Regions from separate parts of the Homo sapiens genome. Here region 1 is linked to region 2. The links are contacts of gene promoters, found by promoter capture Hi-C in blood cells and fetal thymus (Javierre and others, 2016). All regions are on one chromosome and are shown on one strand. Each heading gives the region's core, a stretch centred on a gene start or on the middle of the fragment in contact. The rest is flanking DNA. Distances are from core to core; before and after follow the strand shown.

The links. Contacts are between HindIII fragments. The CHiCAGO score rates a contact against its expected background, and 5 or more counts as called.
Region 1: the fragment with the promoter of CNBP here is called in contact with a fragment that was not itself captured in region 2 in 1 of 17 cell types (naive CD4 T cells); the score reaches 6.0 in naive CD4 T cells.

The regions. Positions count from the first base shown.
Region 1 is chr3:129,181,411-129,186,459 of GRCh38, reverse strand. CNBP (CCHC-type zinc finger nucleic acid binding protein) reads left to right here and starts at 2,564. Exons shown (of 5, transcript NM_003418.5): 1 at 2,564-2,684. LOC105374101 (a long non-coding RNA gene) reads right to left here and starts at 2,386. Exons shown (of 2, transcript XR_924469.3): 1 at 1,988-2,386. RefSeq lists an enhancer at 2,141-2,230. The HindIII fragment of the contact is 13,108 bases long and covers 546-5,049 here.
Region 2 is chr3:128,678,145-128,682,884 of GRCh38, reverse strand. No RefSeq gene overlaps it. Among named protein-coding and RNA genes, the nearest start is that of RPN1, 30 kb to the right of the region's middle. RefSeq lists a silencer at 1,509-1,728 and enhancers at 1,789-1,958, 2,069-2,198, 1,673-2,365. The HindIII fragment of the contact is 2,573 bases long and covers 1,900-4,472 here.

The DNA of each region.
Region 1 (5,049 bases), core at 1,315-3,814, 500 kb before region 2:
TACACCTTTTCTGGCGCCTCACGATCAGCCTGGCTCTATTAATAATAGTCGTTACAGGAAGCTGCATGCCAGGTAGAAAGAGCCATTAGCTGTTACCACTCCACTGCCAAGAAGTAAAGACATTGTTTCCATTTCTTCTACTTAAGTCTTTTAAAACCTATAGAACATTATGTCCAGTATCTCTATCTCACACTCACTTTCATTTTCTATAGCTGTTGAAATTTTTGTTTTAATATTAGGAATATTCCATTCCTGGGTCTATAATGAATAGCAAACATTTTATACAGTACTATGGTTGGAATGGTAAACAAAAATAAGTCAGAAAATATTAATTTTTGGCCATATGGTAATTTTAACTTGTCCTCTTGGTGTGGTGTGGACGCACCCAGGTTGGACTTCATACATAGCCTCTTGCATTATATTGACTCATTGTCAGAGCTCACGAAGTCACTACCTAAGTGTCTGATTGCTACACTATACATTACTTCAAGATACTATGAAGGTTAATCAGATTACAAAGGGGAAATCATAAAGCTGAGTAAGCTTCTTGGTAATAAAACTATATAAATACAAAATACTGTTTTTTATTGGCAGATAATATATCGTGTTTTAGCACAACACATAAGCTGCTAGGCATTTATTCAATCTGATTGGGAATGGGTTAAATTTGGTTAAAAAATTTTACCTTAGGTTGCTTTAATTAAAAAAATGTTTAAGGCTGAGTGCAGTGGCTCACACCTGTAATCCTAGCACTTTGGGGGCACTGGGTGCAGTGGCTCACACCTGTAATCCTAGCACTTTGGCCTAGCACCGCTTGAGGCCAGGAGTTCAAGACCAGCCTGGCCAACATGATGAAACCCCATCTCTACTAAAAATACAAAAATTAGCCAGGCGTGGTGGTGGGCGCCTGCAGTCCCAGCTACTCAGGAGGCTGAGGCAGAATTGGTCAAACATGGGAAGCGGAGGTTGCAGTGAGCTGAGACAGCACTCCAGCCTGGGCAACAGAGGGAGACCCTGTCTCAAAAAATAGTAATAAATAAATTTAAAAAGTTCGGCCAGGCGCGGTGGCTCATGCCTGTAATCCCAGTGCTTTGGGAGGACGATCACCACTTTGGGTGGGCGGATCACCTGAGGTCGGGAGTTTGAGACCAGCCTGACCAACATGGAGAAACCCCGCCTATACTAAAAATACAAAATTAGCCGGGCGTGGTGGCGCATGCCTATAATCCCAGCTACTGGGGAGGCTGAGGCAGGAGAATCACTTGAATCCAGGAGGCGGAGGTTGCAGTGAGCTGAGATCGTGCCATTGCACTCCAGCCTGGGCAACGGAGTGAGACTCCGTTCTCAAAAAAAAAAAAAAGTTTAAAATATCATTGGTCTTTAAAGTTATACATTCATTCTTTGATAATTGCTATGTTGAACGCAACCTCCTAACTGCTTTACAATGATTAAGCACTAATGATTTGAACCCAGGTTTAAAGTCTGACTCTCAACACATGTGCTCTGCCTTCTCACGAACATGATTTCAAAAATCATAGCCCCGGGATTTGGGATTGGTGGCTTATGCCTGTAAACCCAGCGACAGAGCAAGACCCTACTCTTAAAAAAAAAAAAAATTAAAGAAAAAAAGAAAAATAAATCATAGTGTTGAACTGGCAGGTTTCACTGAGACGAAACTTGGGACTCTTCCTTTTTTTTTGTTTCGAATAAAGCCATTCTAGAATGAGACAAAATTCTAAAATATTTTATAGTTAACAGTTTAAATTGGGTTTAATCTTGACAAGACTATCTAGGGCTATATACACAAATCTCTTTTGGAGAAAATACCACAACTAAACTGAAGTCTATTCCTGAATATGACAGACCAGGTCAAATGGTTATCCTTGCCCTCCCGGGGGATGTCACTCATAAACGTGCCAAAAGTCACAGTCTAGGCCCCATTACCTTACATGCTCATGACCTTCCCAGGGAGGCCCCTCGCCCTTACCAGGCACTTTCATCTTGGGAAGACACATCAGTCCTGGCGGAGAAAGCAGCAAGGCCTTTCCCCGGCTCACAAAAATTAATACAAATCTCAGAGGCTGCATCCCACAGCCGTGACCACCGTGACTTGGCATCCCCTTTTCTGCAAACTTAAATGTTATCTAGAAATCGGGCCTGGCTCTGAAAGCCAAGGGCCTGGCAGGAGCCCGAGAAAGGGGAGAAACTTTCTGCGGCCCCAAGCTAATGGCAGTCACTGCACCGAGACCCGTCCCCTGGCATCCCTTTGCTCCAGCTGGCCAAGACAGACCACCAAGGTCAGCCAGATTTCCACCCAGTCTGGCCGGGCCCGGACCCAGCTGGGAATGAACCGAGAAGCACCGGGACCCGGATCCCGGCGTGAAAGGCCGCGCGCGGGGCACGGCGGGAAAAGACGCTGCGCGCAGAAACACCCGCCCCGCGCCGCGCTCTAGTGGGCGGCCCTGCCGCGGGCGGCTCTGATTGGACTGCCGAACCCCGCGCGCTGATTGGCCGCGTGGGCGAGGCGGAGGAGAGCCGTGCGCAGCGGCGTATGTGGGGCCGTGTGCAGACCCGCGTGTGGCGCAGGCAAGGACCCTCAAAATAAACAGCCTCTACCTTGCGAGCCGTCTTCCCCAGGCCTGCGTCCGAGTCTCCGCCGCTGCGGGCCCGCTCCGACGCGGAAGGTGAGGGCTGGGGGAGGGGCCCGGCGCTGACGGAGCCGCAGTGCGGGTCGGGTCTGTGGCGGACAGAGAGGGTAGGGAGCGGCGAGGTGGCGATGGCGGCCGCACTTTGGCCTGCGCCTCTGCTGCGTCAGGCGGGAAGCTCGGCTGCTGCCGCCGCCTCGGACCCGGGTTTCTGGCGCACCGCTGTCGGACGACACTTCTGTCCTTTCTTCGTCCTGGAAAGCTGGGTCGCCGAGCATGCGGGTCTTTCGGCGCCACGGCCGCACCCCAGGCCGCAGGCTTAGGGCAGAGGAGGCCCGCCCGTGCGCCCTTGGGGCCGAGGCCCTGACGCTTCGAGGGTCGCGGAATGAGGGACCGAGGGTGGATTTGGCGGGAACTCACTGGAAGGAGTCCGTGTGGTGGGGAAAGGCTCCCGGCTGCGGATGAAGGGGGGATGGGGTGGGTATAGTCGTGCAGGCCATGTGCTGGGGTCGTGCGCCTGGCGGGCCATGTGCCAAGGGTTTTGGGGGCCTTAGAAAAGGGTTCTTAGGCCGGGCGCGGTGGCTCACGCCTGTAATCCCAGCACTTTGAGAGTCCCAGGCGGGCGGATCACGAGGTCAGGAGTTCGAGACCAGCCTGACCAATATGGTGAAAGTTGGTCTGTACTAAAAATAAAAAATTAGCCGGGCATGGTGGCGGGCGCATGTAGTCCCAGCAGCTCGGGAGGCTGGACAGGAGAATCGCGTGAACCCCGGAGGCCGAGGTTGTGGTGAGCCGAGATCGCGCCACTACACTCCAGCATGGGCAACAGAGAGAGACTCCGTCTTAAAAAAACAAACAAACAAACAAACAAACAACAACAAAGGGTTCCTGAAGAAGCCTTTGTGTTTGGAGTGGCGAGACTGCTGGAAGACTTGGGAGCTTTTAGAGTTTATACTCCCTATCCTTGATAGTTTTCCGATTCTTGAATTTTTATCGTCATTTAAATACTAAGTTGCTTGTGTTACATTACCATTCCAAAAGGGGCTGATGGGGCTCACATTCCAAGAGTTAACACTATTTAAGTTGCTGGGATCCTTTAAAAGCGCCATTACCAGAAAAAACACGAATTTGTCAAACCTCCAAAACCACAGCAGCGGGCGGTAGTCTGCATCATTTCTTGGATTAATGAAACAGATGTAATTACAAACGAGACACGAAATTCAACTAGCTCCCCTCCATCTAGATTTTTCCATATCGTGAGAACCTGTTTTAGAATGGCATAATGGTCCACATTTGGGTTTAGGTGTTGATTTTATTATGGGTAAGGCTTGTGCTTGTTCCCACATGTTAACCATATGGCCTCAGCCACAGGGCACTTCCAAAGGAAGTGACTGTTTCTGGTCTTGGGGGTCTTGTAAAAAGAGAACATTGCTCAGTAATCGTCTGTGATTTTAGCTAGTGTGTTTCAGGCATTATTCAGAAGGACTCAGGTGAGATAAGCCAAAACTGAATTTGTTTTTTGTCTTTCTCAAAGTGAAGGAGGTCTAATGAATATCCCCATCTTGCTTTTAAATTACATTTTTAAAAGTAGATTTTTCCCCCTTTCCTATTGTTTGACCCAATTTTGGAGTGAAACGTAACCAGTTACTATTTCCATTCGAATTTAAATTAGCAATTTTATGTTATTTGTTTGTTCAAGCAGTATAACTGGAGTGTAGAGCTTTGAGGGTTTCAAAAAGATAAGAGATATAGTACTTATCTCCTGGGCTTCCCCCTCCCCCCTCCTAAATAGTTTTAAATGCTTCTAATGAGTTACTCTGGTTAAGGATAATCAAACACCTGTAAACTGCCAGGATCCTAGGTACATGCTGTTTTTAGTTTGTTGAGCCTGATTCTTGTCTACAAGAGTTCTTTGTGTATTGGAATATAAAAGGAATAATTTATTACATTCCCAAGGGCAGAATTAAAGACTTAAGTTTTTCCGATTTCATCTCTTGATAAGTTTTTCTTTAAAAAAATAACAGTTTGTGTTTTTCTGAGGAACCAAAGGTCCTCTTTTTTTTCATATTGGTAACAGGAGAGGTAATGTATTTCAGATGGTGCAGTCTGTAAAATATTTTGAACCAAATCAGTGGAAGACCAGGGGTTTTTCTTTTTTTTTTTCTGAGACGGAGTCTCACTCTGTCGCCCAAGCTGGAGTGCAGTGGCGCGATCTCGGCTCACTGCGACCTCCGCCTCCCGGATTAAGCGATTCTCCTGCCTCAGCCTCCGAAGTAGCTGGGATTACAGGCGCCCGCCGCCACACCCAGCTAGTTTTTGTATTTTAGTACAGACGGGGTTTCACCATGTTGGCCAGGCTGGTCTCGAACTCCTGACCTTGTGATCCGACTCCCTCGGCCTCTCA
Region 2 (4,740 bases), core at 1,937-4,436:
ATCTCAAAATAAATAAATAAATAAAATACAAAAATTAGCGGGGTGTGGCCAGGTGCAGTGGCTCACGCCTGTAATCCCAGCACTTTGGGAGGCCGAGGTGGGCGGATCACGAGGTCAGGAGTTCGAGACCAGCCTGGCCAATATGATGAGACCCCATCTCCCTAAAAATACAAAAATTAGCTGGGCGTGGTGGCACGTGCCTGTAGTCCTAGCTACTAGGGAGGCTGAGGCAGAAGAATCGCTTGAACCTGGGAGATGGAGGTTGCAGTGAGCCATGATTATGCCACTACACTCCAGCCTGGGCAACAGAGCAAGACTCCATCTCAAAAAAAAAAAAATTAGCTGGGTGTGGTGGCATGCACCTGTAATCCCAGATACTTGGGAGGTTGAAGCAGGAGAATCACTTGAACCCAGGAGACAGACGTTGCAGTGAGCCGAGATCGCACCATTGCACTCCAGCCTGGGCAACAAGAGTGAAACTCCGTCTCAGGAAAAAAAAAAAAAAAAAAAAAAAAAGAATACCCTCTTCTCCAGTGCCTGGCACACTAGTAAAGGCTCAGTATGGTTGTTGCTTTAGGATGGAGGACTAACACTTCTTTCAAGTTCAAATAGGCGATTTCCAAACTCAATGCCAATTCTGAAACTGCTACTACTTATTTTTCAGGCAGTGGAAACACCTTTCTGGATGATTCTAAGGCAGAACTTGGCTCAAACTCTCAATGTTGCCACTGTTTTCGATATTAACCCGAAAAGCCTAAGATATACCAAAATCAGAAGAAGCCATTGAGACTATGTATGCTTACAGTAGAAAGGCATTCAGCATCAGCAAATAGGTCGAGTGCCTCCTGCTTCCCAGGCCAAATTTTCTGACCCCCCGCCAACAAAAACTAGCTTTCAAGAGGGCTCAGGCTGTCACAATGATTGGCATTCTTTGCTGTAAGTACTACAGTATTGACCTTGAAATTTTTATCCTTGAAAATTGAGTTTCATGAATGTTTATCAAATGTCTTGGTTCCAGGTTAAAAAAGTCTTTTTTTTTCTATGTGCTAGTCTGCCCTTATACCCTTACAAAAGAACTTGTCTTTAAGCCATAATTTAAATATTTACAAAAAATTTAAAATTAACACCTGTCCATGGTACAAAGCTCAGAAAACCCAACGGTCTTAGATGAAAACTGTCTCCTCCCATCCTTGTTCCGTATCTCTCCATTCCCTTCCTTAGGCTGGGCGATCGCTATTACCATTACCGCTATACTATGCTTACACATTCATATCTTCATTTATGTGGGTCTTCTTGTTTAAAAACACAAAGGCATATCTATACACATTTTCCTGTGCTTTGCTTTCTTTCACTTAATTTATCTCAGAGCTGGTTCCACATTAGTACATAAACTGCAGCTTTGCTCTTTTTAACGGTGGCAGGCCATTCCTCTGAAAGATGGCCTGATTTATTTCACCAGTTCCTGGTTTTGCGGCTCAGGATGGGAAAAAGGAAGTCTGAGTGAATCGCGTTGAGGTTACTAGGAATTGCCATGCTGCCCACCTCCCGAAGTGTTAGGAGGTAACATCTCATCGTCTCATCGCACTCCAGTGGAGTGTCGCGAAGTTGCAACTCGGCCCCAAGGCGGCCCGCACTTCCACCCGCACACAAAGGCAGGTCGCAGCCCCGCACGCGGGGACAGGGCCAGCAAGGGGCGGGGACCCTCGGGGCCGCCGCCTCCGCAGCCCCGCGTGTGGGACCCTGGGGCGGGCCGCCATCTTGTGGTGCGGCCGCCGCCTGCCAGGAGACACCTAGCAACTCCGCAGCGGCCATCTTTTACAAGAAACCTTCGCTGCAACCGCTGCGTCACATCACCGCGTCTCCCAGGGACAGGAAAGCCTCTCCGTGTTTGGTGAAGCTTCAGGGGAAGCAGTCATCCTGTCGTCGCATACGGCAAAATCCTCCATTGCCGTAGCCGTTCGGCTGACGTGACAAGGGAGGTGCAGGCCAACACGGCGACTCCGCGCCCTCTGGCGGCAGTGCCGGAGCAGCGGCGCTGTCTTTGACCTATCCGGCATTCGGCTTCCGGGACCGCTTGGCGGCTGTGAATGCAGAGCTGGGGCGACGTGGGGCTCGCTTCCTGGGACTGGGTGTGAGCTTGCGCAGTGAGCCATATGGGGGTCATGGCCTGGCGTGGGGGCGTGGCCGGGTGGGGCCGCTGGATTTGGTGCTGGAAAGCTAGGGAAGTAGTCGTGCGTTTAAGAACGGCCGGCCGGCGGGGTGGCTCAAGCATGTAATCCCAGCACTTTGGGAGGCCGAGGCGGGCGGACCACGAGGTCAGGGGTTCGAGACCAGCCTGGCCAACATGGCGAAACCCCGTCTCTACTAAAAATACAAAAATTAGCCAGCGTGGTGGCGTCTGTAGTCCCAGCTACTTGGAAGCCTGAGGCAGGAGAATTGCTTGAACCCAGGAGGCAGAGGTTGCAGTGAGCCGAGATCGTGCCACTTCACTCCAGCCTGTGCAACAGAGGGACACTCGTCCCCCCCCAAAAAAAAGCCCGGGCTGGGTGGCTTACACCTGTAATCCCAGTACTTTGGGAGGCCGAGGCAGGCGGATCATCTGAGGTCGGGAGTTCGAGACCAGCTTCATCAACATGGAGAACTCACCCATCTCTACTAAAAATACAAAATTAGCTGGGCATGATGGCGCATGCCTGTAATCCCAGCTACTCAGGAGGCTGAGGCAGGAGAATTGCTTGAACCCAGGAGGTGGAGGTTGCGGTGAGCTGAGATTGCACCATTGCACTCCAGCCTGGGCAGCAAGAGTGAAACTTTGTCTCTCTCTCTCTTTCTGTCTCTGGCACATACACACACACACGCACACACACGGGCCTCCTGTGGTCTCACTTGGTCCTCTTTGTGACAGTGCCATTGTTACCATTTACAGAGGAGGAACTGAAGCTCATGGTTGAGCCTCTCACTTGCCCACTTTGCCAAACCCTGGTAGGGATGGGATTAGAGGCTCCTTTTCTTTCGTGAAATGAGACAACGATCTGGGGGATCGTTGGAAGGATTAAAATGAGTATTCAGATTACAATGCTGGATTCTTAATAGTGTCCTCTGTTAATAATAATAATAATGTAGTAGCAACAGTCACGTAGTCTTTACAGTCACAGGTGCATGTGTGTAGATGGGGTTCTCTCTGTATTAGCCAGGCTGGTCTCCAACTCCTGGCCTCAGGCTATCTTCGCACCTCTGCCTCCCTTAGTGCTGGTATTACAGATGTGAGCCACTACACCAGCCTGCAGTTTTTACTACAACTCTGTGAGGTGATTAGTACTAGCATTCCCATTTGACAAATAAGGACAGTGAAGAAAGCAGAAGTAACTTGGCCAAGGTCACAGAACAGCCATAGCAATTCCTGGGTGGTGTGGAGTGGAAGGCTCTGGCCTTAACTGCTACACATTGTCTCTGGTAACAAGGCCCTGCCTGAAGTATATTCCGGCTTCTAGAGGTTGCAAGGAAATGGACCACTCATCAGTTCTTGCAGCCTCCTTATGATCTACAGTGGGACTTCGCAAAGGCAGGCCTAGTAGGAAAACAAAGAGAAGAGGGTTGGAAGAAGGGAAGGATTGGGGCTCAGAAATTATGAGGGAATGGACTAGAAAGGATAGAAACAAAGCTCTTGGGCAGGTGCAGTGGCTCACACCTGTAATCCCAGCACTTTGGGAGGGCAAGATGGGAGAATCAATTGAGGTCAGAAGTTCTAGGCCAGCCTGGCCAACATGGTGAAACCCCATCTCTACTAAAAATACAAAAAAAGAAAAAAGAAAAAAGAAAAAATGGGTCGGGAGCAGTGGCTCACACCTGTAATCCCAGCACTTTGGGAGGCTGAGGCGGGCGGATTACCTGAGGTCAGGAGTTTTATACCAGCCTGGCCAACATGGAGAAACCCCATCTCTACTAAAAATACAAAATTAGCCGGCCATGGTGGTGCATGCCTGTAATCCCAGCTACTCAGGAGGCTGAGTCAGGAGAATCACTTGAACCCAGGAGGTGGAGGTTGCAGTGAGCTGAGATTGCGCCATTGCACTCCAGCCTGGACAACAAGAGTAAAACTCCATCTAAAAAAAAAAAAAAAAATTAGCTGTGCTTAGTGGCACATACCTGTAATCCCAGTTACTCAGGAGGCTGAGGCAGGAGAATCGCTTGAACTAGGGGGATGGAGGTTGCAGTGAGCTGAGATCGTGCTACTCCACTCCAGCCTGGGCGACAGAGCCAGACTCTGTCTCAAAAAACAAAACAAAACAAAACAAAAATTAACTGGGCATGGTGTTGCAGGCCTGTAATCCCAGCTAATTTGGAGGCTGAGGCAGGAAAATTGCTTGAACCCGGGAGGTGGAGGTTGCAGTGAGCCGAGATCCTGCCACTGTACTCCAACGTGGGTGGCAGAGCGAGACTCCGTCTCAAAAAAAAAAAAAAGAAACAAAGCTTTTGTCCCCATCTCCACCAGAAGTGAAGAAAAGAATGGCTTCCAGCTTGAGGAATGGGGAATGGGGATGATGGTACTACACTACTACTACTACTATTAAATACTACTGCTACTGCTACAACACTACACATTCATATCTATTCTTAGAAGGTATTAATCCCAGAAATTCAGGTTGAGGTTGGGAAAAGTAGGTTCCTTATCCTTGGGAATCTGTTTACTTACCTATAAAACCAGAGTGTAGTAAATAGGAATCCCTGTCCTGGCTGCCT